Regions from separate parts of the Homo sapiens genome. Here regions 1 and 3 are each linked to region 2. The links are contacts of gene promoters, found by promoter capture Hi-C in blood cells and fetal thymus (Javierre and others, 2016). All regions are on one chromosome and are shown on one strand. Each heading gives the region's core, a stretch centred on a gene start or on the middle of the fragment in contact. The rest is flanking DNA. Distances are from core to core; before and after follow the strand shown.

Region 1 (3,363 bases), core at 427-2,926, 570 kb before region 2:
CCAGCCTGGGCAACAAGAGTGAAACTCCATCTCAAAATAATAATAACAATAATAAAAATTATGGCCAAGGAATGCCTCTCAGCAATGTTGACAGTTAACTGAAACCTGCATAAGTGAAAGGAGGCAGCCATGCAGAGCACTGGAGAAAGAGCATTCAGGCAGAAGAAGCACAGGTGCAAAGGACCTGTGACAACCAGTAGCTCTGGGGACTGTCAGAAAGCCAGTATAGCCAGGTATGGTGATGCACACCTGTAATCCCAGCACGTTGGGAGACTGAGGTGGGTGGATTGCTTGAGCCCAGGAGTTCAAGACCAGCCTGGGCAACACGGCAAGACCCCATCTCTACCAACACAATACAAAAATTAGCCAGGCCTGATGGTATGCACTTGTGGTCCCAGCTACTTGGGAGGCTGAGGTGGGAGAATCACTTGAGCCCAAGGGGTCAAGGCTTCAATAAGCCAAGTTCACACCACTGCACTCCAGTCTGAGTGACAGAGTGAAACTCGGTCTCAAAAAAAAAACAAACAAACAACAAAAAAAGGCCAATGTGACTGGTAGAAAGAGCCAGGTCACAGAGCCCTGCAATCCCATCAAGGGTGTTATGTTGAGTATACTGGGGATGCGGGGGGACTAAAAGCACAGCCCTGACATGATCTGCTTTATAAACAGTAAGGCTAATTAGGAAGCTACTGAGATAGCCCAGGAAGAGAAAATGGTGGCTTGAGGTTAGAATGCCTACACCTGGACTGGGCCGAAGAAAGTTTTTATAAACATCCTTAGAAAAACCTTTGACTCCATTTACAACAGCAACCAAATGTATACAAATTTAAGAAACAGGCCATTCATGGCTAGGTGCAGTGACTCACACCTGTAATCCCAGCACTTTGGGAGGCCGAGGCAGGTAGATCACCTGAAGTCAAGAGTTCAAGACCAGCCTGACCAATATGGTGAAACCCTGTCTCTGCTAAAAATACAAAAATTAGCTGGGTGTGGTGGCGTGCACCTGTAGTCCCAGCTACTTGGGAGTCTGAGACAGAAGAATCACTTGAACCTGGAGGTTGCAGCGAGCCGAGCTCACGCCATTGCAGTCCAGCCTGGGCGACAAAGTGAGACTCCGTCTCTAAAGAGAAAGTAGGAAAGAAAGAAAGAGGCCAGTCGTAGTGGCTTATGTCTGTAATCCCTGCACTTTGGGAAGCCCAGACAGGAGGATCACTTGAACCCAGGAGTTCAAGACTAGCCTGGGCAACACAGTGAGAGCCTATCCCTACAAAAAAATTTATTTTAATTAGCCAGACACATGACATGCACCTGTAGTTCTAGCTACATGGGAGGATCACCTGAGCCCACGAGTTCAAGGCTGCAGTGAGCTATGATGGAGCCACTGCATACTAGCCTGGGTGACAGAGTAAGACTGTCTCTAAAAACAAAAATATGGAAAACAAAAAAAACACCCTATGCTATAAGCAAAGTCCAGCATTTAACATGAGATCCATGTATTCCTAGAGATGCAAGAATTGTGAACCCTGCTCTCAAGTCCATGAACCACCTGAATTATAAGCAAACTTTGTATGCCTAGATCATAACTCGTCAGAATTTCAAAGAAACTTTCACTCCAAATAATTGCATAGTGCTTCAAAGTGCAGGCCCTATGGCCAGGCACAAGTGGCTCATGCCTGTAATCCCAATCCTCTGGGAGGCCAAGACGGGGAGATCACTTGTCAGTTTGAGACCAGCCTCGCCAACATGGCAAAACCCCGTCTCTGTTAAAAATACAAAAAAATTACCCAAGCACAGTGGCACGCATCTGTAGTCCCAGCTACTAGGGAGGCTAAGGCAGGAGATTCACTTGAACCTGGGAGGCGGAGGTTGCAGTGAGCAGAGATCCCGCCACTGCCCTCCAGCCTGGGCGACAGAGTGAAACTCCATCTCAAAAAAAACAAACTAACAAAAAAAAACAAAGAACAAAGTACAGGCCCTAGAGCTTGAATACCTGGAGGTGGATTCTAGCAACACCACTTAGAATAGAACTGTATATCCACAGGAAGTTAATCTTTCTGTGCCTTGATTTCCTCATCTGTAAAATGGGGATAATAATAGTACCTAACTCATGGAGTTGCAGTGAGGGTTGAAAAGGTAATACATGGGCCAGGCATGGTGTCTCCCGCCTGTAATCCCAGCACTCTGGGAAGTGGAGGTGGGAAGATCACTTGAGGTCAGTTTGAGACCAGCCTGGCCAACACTGCAAAACCCCTTCTCTACTAAAAATACAAAAATTAGTTCCCCAGGTGTGGTGGTGGGCACCTGTAGTTCTAGCTACTCAGGAGGCTGAGGCATGAGATTCGCTTGAACCCGGGAGAGAGAGGTTGCAGTGAGCCAAGATCATACCACTGCATTCCAGCCTGGGTGACAGAGTGAGACTCTGTCTCAAAAAAAAAAAAAAAAAAAAAAAACAAAAAACAAAGGAAAAGGTAATAAGGTAATACATGCAAAGTGCTTAAAACAGACGCTGGCACATAATAAGTTATGTTGTTATTGTTACTAATAATGTTATTGTTGTTTAAAAAAACACTGCTCTAAGTTCGTGCTTAGGAAATTGGGTTTCCCCTGGTCTCAGAACACACTGTATTTAGATACCCCCTACTATGTTTCCATTTAAATCTAATCACTGCTCTAACCCAAAGACAGCAAACTTTTTCTGTAAACAACCGGAGAGTAACTATCTTACCCTTTGTGGGTCATATACCTCTCTTAACAGCCACATATCTCTGCAGCTGTAGCATAGAAGCAGCCACACACAATACATAAACCATTGTGGCTGTTTTCCAATGAAGGTGTATTTACAAAAATAGGCAAGTAGCCAGGCAAGGTGGCTCACGCCTGTAATCCCAGCACTTTGGGAGCCGGAGGCAGGCAAACCGCTTGAGGTCGGGAGTTCGAGACCAGCTTGTCCAACATGGTGAAACCCGTCTCTACTAAAAGTACAAAAAATTAGCCAGGTGTGGTGGTGCACGCCTGTAATCCCAGCTTCTCGGGAGGCTGAGGTGGGAGAATCACTTGAACCTGGGAGGCAGAGGTTGCAGTGAGCTGAGATCACGCCACTGCACTCCAGCCTGGGCAACAGAAAGAAACTTAAAAAAAAACAGGCAAGAGGCCAAGGTAGGCTCACATTTGATCTAACCCGAATATACTAAGCAACTCTGTACATGTACCATACTTTGCACTGAAAGAATAAAAATAAACCAGACAATCCCTGTCCTCAAAAAACAAACACAATACACCACAGGCCTCTTCACAGACTTGTTACCTTGCTCACTAGGAATGTAGGTCTCATCATAATCTTCTTCCAGAACCAGCTGATCTCCT
Region 2 (2,992 bases), core at 22-2,521:
GTTTGCTAAGACAAATTTGCTTAAGTGCCCCCCCACCGAACTACTACATAAATTAGTGAAGGATGTTTTACTTAATTTGATTTTGGTAATCATTACACAATGTATAATTATATCCAGTCATCACATTGTACACCTTGAATATATATAATTTTTTGTCAAATAATAAAGCTGGGAAGAAAACGATAAAACTGACAATCTAACATATATGATGAGGTAAAAAGATCTGGTATTTCAAGAAATTTGGATGACCTCTTGCACCCCACTTCGCTAGCCTCTACTCCCTAGAGTCATGTTCTGACTATGTGAAGTTGAGCAACTTCCTTAATCTTGCCACGCTTCAGTTCTTATCTGTAAAATATGATAATGAAACGATTTGAGAATTGTGAGGGTTAAATGAGATAATTCAGGTAAAGCTCTAAACCCCCTGCAAAGAATAAAGTCTTTTCTTTCCCCCCAAAACTTGAGTGTTAGAATTCATTCTCTCTGGTTTCTCTCTTTTACTATGCTAAAAAATGATCCAGGTCCGTCCTTCTCATTGGCAAGATTGTTTTACAGTTTCCTTCAAGAGATAACTGGGGGCTACTTGTAATAGAACACTAGAAGAGTTACACAGGTCTTAGAAACTACGTTTTTCATAGTAATTATGTTGGTTTGCACTTCCTGGCTTCCTTTCTTGGACGGTAGGTACCTGGAAGCCTAGTGGAGCAGATTCCCCCCACTTAAAGATACTTATAAAAATAACGAACATAGTTCCGATGACCATGTGCCCAACACCGCTCTGCGCACTTCACACAGTAATATCATCTCAGCCTGTGACCGTTCCGAGTTAGGTGCCGGGATTCTCCCTGTTTTGTGATAACTTGCCCGAGGTCGTACAGCTAGCCAGCTATGGAACCAGTATTCAAACTCGGCTACGCTGCAGCCCGTGGCCCTCCACTTTCTTGCTCGTGCTCTGGAGTTTAGGCGGCCGATGGGGGCGGGGTCCTTTGGGTCAGGTTGTGGCCTCATAGAACAGCGCTTGCTGCGGTTGGATGGATGGGTGGGTGGGTGGGTGAGTGAATGAAGAGAAGAAACCTGGTGGCGTCGTCCCAGGGCTGTGGAGCGCCCCGAAGGTGCGCACGTCCCTGGCTAGCCTGCGAGCGCGTCCCGGTGGCCGCACCTGCCAGCCGCGCGATTCTTAGCACTCTCCGCCACTTCCGGCCGTGGCCCCGCCCTGTCGGGTGGCTGGCGTCCGTTACGCGTTGAGGCATTTTGTCCCCAGCGCCGACCCGTCTCTCTGCCCCCGCCGCTGCCATGGCGGCAGCTCCGCCGCTTTCCAAGGCCGAGTATCTGAAGCGTTACTTGTCCGGGGCAGATGCCGGCGTCGACCGGGGATCTGAGTCCGGTCGCAAGCGTCGCAAAAAGCGGCCGAAGCCTGGCGGGGCCGGCGGCAAGGGGTGAGTTGGTACCGGCCGGGGCGGGGCCTGCGACGTCTAGCCACCCCTTCCCAACTCCGCCCTCGGCCGCCCGGCAGTTCCTTCCCTCTTGGCGGGTCTCTCGGCTTCTCCGCCGACCCCTGCTCATGCTCAGGGCCCCACTCACATCGCTTGAGGCCCCCCGCCTTGCCTCTGCCGCCCCGCTTACATCTCGAGCCTCTGAGCAGTAGCGTCAGTGCGTTAAAGCCGGGGTGTAACTTTGATTACTCTTTTCCCGCCTTGGTAGACTTCCGTCCTCTCCCATAGAGAATGAATATTGTGCCTCGAGAATAATGGAGCGGATTCAAAGCCTCTGTGCTTGGATCTTTAGGGCCCGGTACCTGCCTGTGGGGATTCCCAGATCCCAAGGACTTGGTTCTGAATCAGAGACCTTTGATCACCTCCTGTTACTCTTAGTAATAGTCCTAACGTGAGAAGCTAACATTTATATAGTTATACTTTTCTTGCCAGGCACCATTATAAGAAATTTAAACATATATAAGTTTATTTAAGCCTCACCACACTACCATGAAGTGGGTATTATTTTCATATGGGACAACTTTGTGGCCCAGTGTAGTGGGCCCTACCAAATCGTTTTCCACCCAGAACCACAGAATGTGACATTTAGAAATAGGGTCTTTGGAGATGTAATCAGTTAAGATGAGGTCATACTTGATTAAGGTGGGTGCCAAATCCAAGATGACTGTTTGCCTTTTAAAAAGAGGGAAGTATGGATACAGACACAGCAACAAAGGAAAAACGACCATGTCTAGATGAAGGCTGAGATTGGATTGGATTTATGTTGCCAAAAGCCAAGGTATGCTTGGGGCTACCAGAAGCTGGGAGAGGCAAGGAAAGATTCTCTGCTAGAGACTTTCCAGGGAGGATGGCCTTGCAGACACCTGGATTTCAGATTGCTAGCTTCCAGAACTGCGAGAGAGTTTCTGTTGTTTTATGCCACGCAATTTGTGGTACTTTGTTACAGTAACCCTAAGGCACTGAGATACCCAGTGAAGTCACATTGTTCTAAAGAACTAGTCCAAGTTCTTTTCTGGTTTGGTGCTTGCCTTATTATTGTCTTCGTCTTTCTGCCTCGCTGACTTGTGTGGATCCTTTGGAGGCAGTGCCATGTGATGAAAGTAGCTTGAGTGTTGGAGCAGCACTGGTCAGAGTTCGAATCCTAGCTGTGCCACTTTATAGGCTGTGTACCCTTGGGCAAGGTGTTTCATCTCACTGAGCTGCAGTTTCCTTATCTTTAAAATGAGAATAATAATAATAATGGTTTTATTAAGTGGTGGTTGTGATTAGAGGGATTGCATTAAGTGACCCTGGCTTTTTGAATAACTTCACATCATGGCAGTCATTGTTATTATTTGGGCTCAGCTATATAGTTTATCCACGTAACAAACATTTATTGAATATTTCGTATTCCAGTTACTGTAGGGTGTTGAGGATGCCTCTGTGAACAAAAAAAACATAGTCCCTGTTCTTGTGGAGCTTATAGATTAATGGGAATACAGGCTTTAAGCAACTAATTA
Region 3 (3,434 bases), core at 571-3,070, 510 kb before region 2:
AGTCGGGAAATTCTGCTGCTTGAAACTTCAGCCCTGAACCTTTGTCCACCATTCCTTTAAATTCTCCAACCCAAAGTATTCTTCTTTTCTTAGTTTCAGAAGTACTGGCATCACACGCAGGTTACCTTGGCGTGTGTCCCTGTGGTACCCTGGCAGAGAAGAGACCAAGCTTGTTTCCCTGCTGGCCAAAGTCAGTAGGAGAGGATGCACAGTTTGCTATTTGCTTTAGAGACAGGGACTGTATAAACAAGCCTAACATTGGTGCAAAGATTGCCTCTTGAATTAAAAAAAAAAACTAGATTGACTATTTATACAAATGGGGGCGGCTGGAAAGAGGAGAAGGAGAGGGAGTACAAAGACAGGGAATAGTGGGATCAAAGCTAGGAAAGGCAGAAACACAACCACTCACCAGTCCTAGTTTTAGACCTCATCTCCAAGATAGCATCCCATCTCAGAAGATGGGTGTTGTTTTCAATGTTTTCTTTTCTGTGGTTGCAGCCTGACCAAAAGTGAGATGGGAAGGGCTTATCTAGCCAAAGAGCTCTTTTTTAGCTCTCTTAAATGAAGTGCCCACTAAGAAGTTCCACTTAACACATGAATTTCTGCCATATTAATTTCATTGTCTCTATCTGAACCACCCTTTATTCTACATATGATAGGCAGCACTGAAATATCCTAACCCCCTAAGCTCCAGGTGCCCTGTGGGAGAGCAACTGGACTATAGCAGGGCTGGGCTCTGTCTTCCTGGTCATAGGCTCACTCTTTCCCCCAAATCTTCCTCTGGAGCTTTGCAGCCAAGGTGCTAAAAGGAATAGGTAGGAGACCTCTTCTATCTAATCCTTAAAAGCATAATGTTGAACATTCATTCAACAGCTGATGCCCTATAACCCCTGCCTGGATTTCTTCCTATTAGGCTATAAGAAGTAGCAAGATCTTTACATAATTCAGAGTGGTTTCATTGCCTTCCTACCCTCTCTAATGGCCCCTCCATTTATTTGACTAAAGCATCACACAGTGGCACTAGCATTATACCAAGAGTATGAGAAATACAGTGCTTTATGGCTCTAACATTACTGCCTTCAGTATCAAGGCTGCCTGGAGAAAGGATGGCAGCCTCAGGGCTTCCTTATGTCCTCCACCACAAGAGCTCCTTGATGAAGGTCATCTTTTTCCCCTATCCTGTTCTTCCCCTCCCCGCTCCTAATGGTACGTGGGTACCCAGGCTGGTTCTTGGGCTAGGTAGTGGGGACCAAGTTCATTACCTCCCTATCAGTTCTAGCATAGTAAACTACGGTACCAGTGTTAGTGGGAAGAGCTGGGTTTTCCTAGTATACCCACTGCATCCTACTCCTACCTGGTCAACCCGCTGCTTCCAGGTATGGGACCTGCTAAGTGTGGAATTACCTGATAAGGGAGAGGGAAATACAAGGAGGGCCTCTGGTGTTCCTGGCCTCAGCCAGCTGCCCACAAGCCATAAACCAATAAAACAAGAATACTGAGTCAGTTTTTTATCTGGGTTCTCTTCATTCCCACTGCACTTGGTGCTGCTTTGGCTGACTGGGAACACCCCATAACTACAGAGTCTGACAGGAAGACTGGAGACTGTCCACTTCTAGCTCGGAACTTACTGTGTAAATAAACTTTCAGAACTGCTACCATGAAGTGAAAATGCCACATTTTGCTTTATAATTTCTACCCATGTTGGGAAAAACTGGCTTTTTCCCAGCCCTTTCCAGGGCATAAAACTCAACCCCTTCGATAGCAAGTCCCATCAGCCTATTATTTTTTTAAAGAAAACTTGCACTTGTTTTTCTTTTTACAGTTACTTCCTTCCTGCCCCAAAATTATAAACTCTAAGTGTAAAAAAAAGTCTTAACAACAGCTTCTTGCTTGTAAAAATATGTATTATACATCTGTATTTTTAAATTCTGCTCCTGAAAAATGACTGTCCCATTCTCCACTCACTGCATTTGGGGCCTTTCCCATTGGTCTGCATGTCTTTTATCATTGCAGGCCAGTGGACAGAGGGAGAAGGGAGAACAGGGGTCGCCAACACTTGTGTTGCTTTCTGACTGATCCTGAACAAGAAAGAGTAACACTGAGGCGCTCGCTCCCATGCACAACTCTCCAAAACACTTATCCTCCTGCAAGAGTGGGCTTTCCAGGGTCTTTACTGGGAAGCAGTTAAGCCCCCTCCTCACCCCTTCCTTTTTTCTTTCTTTACTCCTTTGGCTTCAAAGGATTTTGGAAAAGAAACAATATGCTTTACACTCATTTTCAATTTCTAAATTTGCAGGGGATACTGAAAAATACGGCAGGTGGCCTAAGGCTGCTGTAAAGTTGAGGGGAGAGGAAATCTTAAGATTACAAGATAAAAAACGAATCCCCTAAACAAAAAGAACAATAGAACTGGTCTTCCATTTTGCCACCTTTCCTGTTCATGACAGCTACTAACCTGGAGACAGTAACATTTCATTAACCAAAGAAAGTGGGTCACCTGACCTCTGAAGAGCTGAGTACTCAGGCCACTCCAATCACCCTACAAGATGCCAAGGAGGTCCCAGGAAGTCCAGCTCCTTAAACTGACGCTAGTCAATAAACCTGGGCAAGTGAGGCAAGAGAAATGAGGAAGAATCCATCTGTGAGGTGATAGGCAAGGATGAAAGACAAAGAAGGAAAAGAGTATCAAAGGCAGAAAGGAGATCATTTAGTTGGGTCTGAAAGGAAAAGTCTTTGCTATCCGACATGTACTGCTAGTACCTGTAAGCATTTTAGGTCCCAGAATGGAAAAAAAAATCAGCTATTGGTAATATAATAATGTCCTTTCCCTGGAGTCAGTTTTTTTAAAAAGTTAACTCTTAGTTTTTACTTGTTTAATTCTAAAAGAGAAGGGAGCTGAGGCCATTCCCTGTAGGAGTAAAGATAAAAGGATAGGAAAAGATTCAAAGCTCTAATAGAGTCACAGCTTTCCCAGGTATAAAACCTAAAATTAAGAAGTACAATAAGCAGAGGTGGAAAATGATCTAGTTCCTGATAGCTACCCACAGAGCAAGTGATTTATAAATTTGAAATCCAAACTACTTTCTTAATATCACTTTGGTCTCCATTTTTCCCAGGACAGGAAATATGTCCCCCCCTAACTTTCTTGCTTCAAAAATTAAAATCCAGCATCCCAAGATCATTCTACAAGTAATTTTGCACAGACATCTCCTCACCCCAGTGCCTGTCTGGAGCTCACCCAAGGTCACCAAACAACTTGGTTGTGAACCAACTGCCTTAACCTTCTGGGGGAGGGGGATTAGCTAGACTAGGAGACCAGAAGTGAATGGGAAAGGGTGAGGACTTCACAATGTTGGCCTGTCAGAGCTTGATTAGAAGCCAAGACAGTGGCAGCAAAGGAAGACTTGGCCCAGGAAAAACCTGTGGGTTGTGCT

The links. The method cuts DNA at HindIII sites, captures the fragments that hold promoters and counts their contacts. A CHiCAGO score of 5 or more calls a contact.
Region 1: a contact is called between a fragment that was not itself captured here and the fragment with the promoter of BUD13 in region 2, in 6 of 17 cell types (naive B cells, neutrophils, total B cells and 3 more). The highest score is 7.5, in naive B cells.
Region 3: a contact is called between a fragment that was not itself captured here and the fragment with the promoter of BUD13 in region 2, in 9 of 17 cell types (naive B cells, non-activated CD4 T cells, neutrophils and 6 more). The highest score is 7.5, in naive B cells.

What each region holds. Positions count from the first base shown.
Region 1 is chr11:117,338,610-117,341,972 of GRCh38, reverse strand. It overlaps CEP164 (centrosomal protein 164), which reads right to left. Exons shown (of 33, transcript NM_014956.5): 3 at 3,305-3,363. Among named protein-coding and RNA genes, the nearest start is that of CEP164, 12 kb to the right of the region's middle. The HindIII fragment of the contact is 3,559 bases long and covers 1-3,363 here.
Region 2 is chr11:116,771,266-116,774,257 of GRCh38, reverse strand. BUD13 (BUD13 spliceosome associated protein) reads left to right here and starts at 1,271. Exons shown (of 10, transcript NM_032725.4): 1 at 1,271-1,436. The coding sequence starts at 1,294. It overlaps ZPR1 (ZPR1 zinc finger), which reads left to right. Exons shown (of 14, transcript NM_003904.5): 14 at 1-459. BUD13-DT (BUD13 divergent transcript) reads right to left here and starts at 787. Exons shown (of 2, transcript NR_186226.1): 1 at 747-787; 2 at 53-348. RefSeq lists an enhancer at 723-812 and a silencer at 933-1,132. The HindIII fragment of the contact is 6,866 bases long and covers 1-2,992 here.
Region 3 is chr11:117,285,879-117,289,312 of GRCh38, reverse strand. It overlaps RNF214 (ring finger protein 214), which reads right to left. Exons shown (of 15, transcript NM_207343.4): 15 at 2,859-3,434. It overlaps BACE1 (beta-secretase 1), which reads left to right. Exons shown (of 9, transcript NM_012104.6): 9 at 1-3,434. Among named protein-coding and RNA genes, the nearest start is that of BACE1, 29 kb to the left of the region's middle. RefSeq lists an enhancer at 1-169. The HindIII fragment of the contact is 3,297 bases long and covers 172-3,434 here.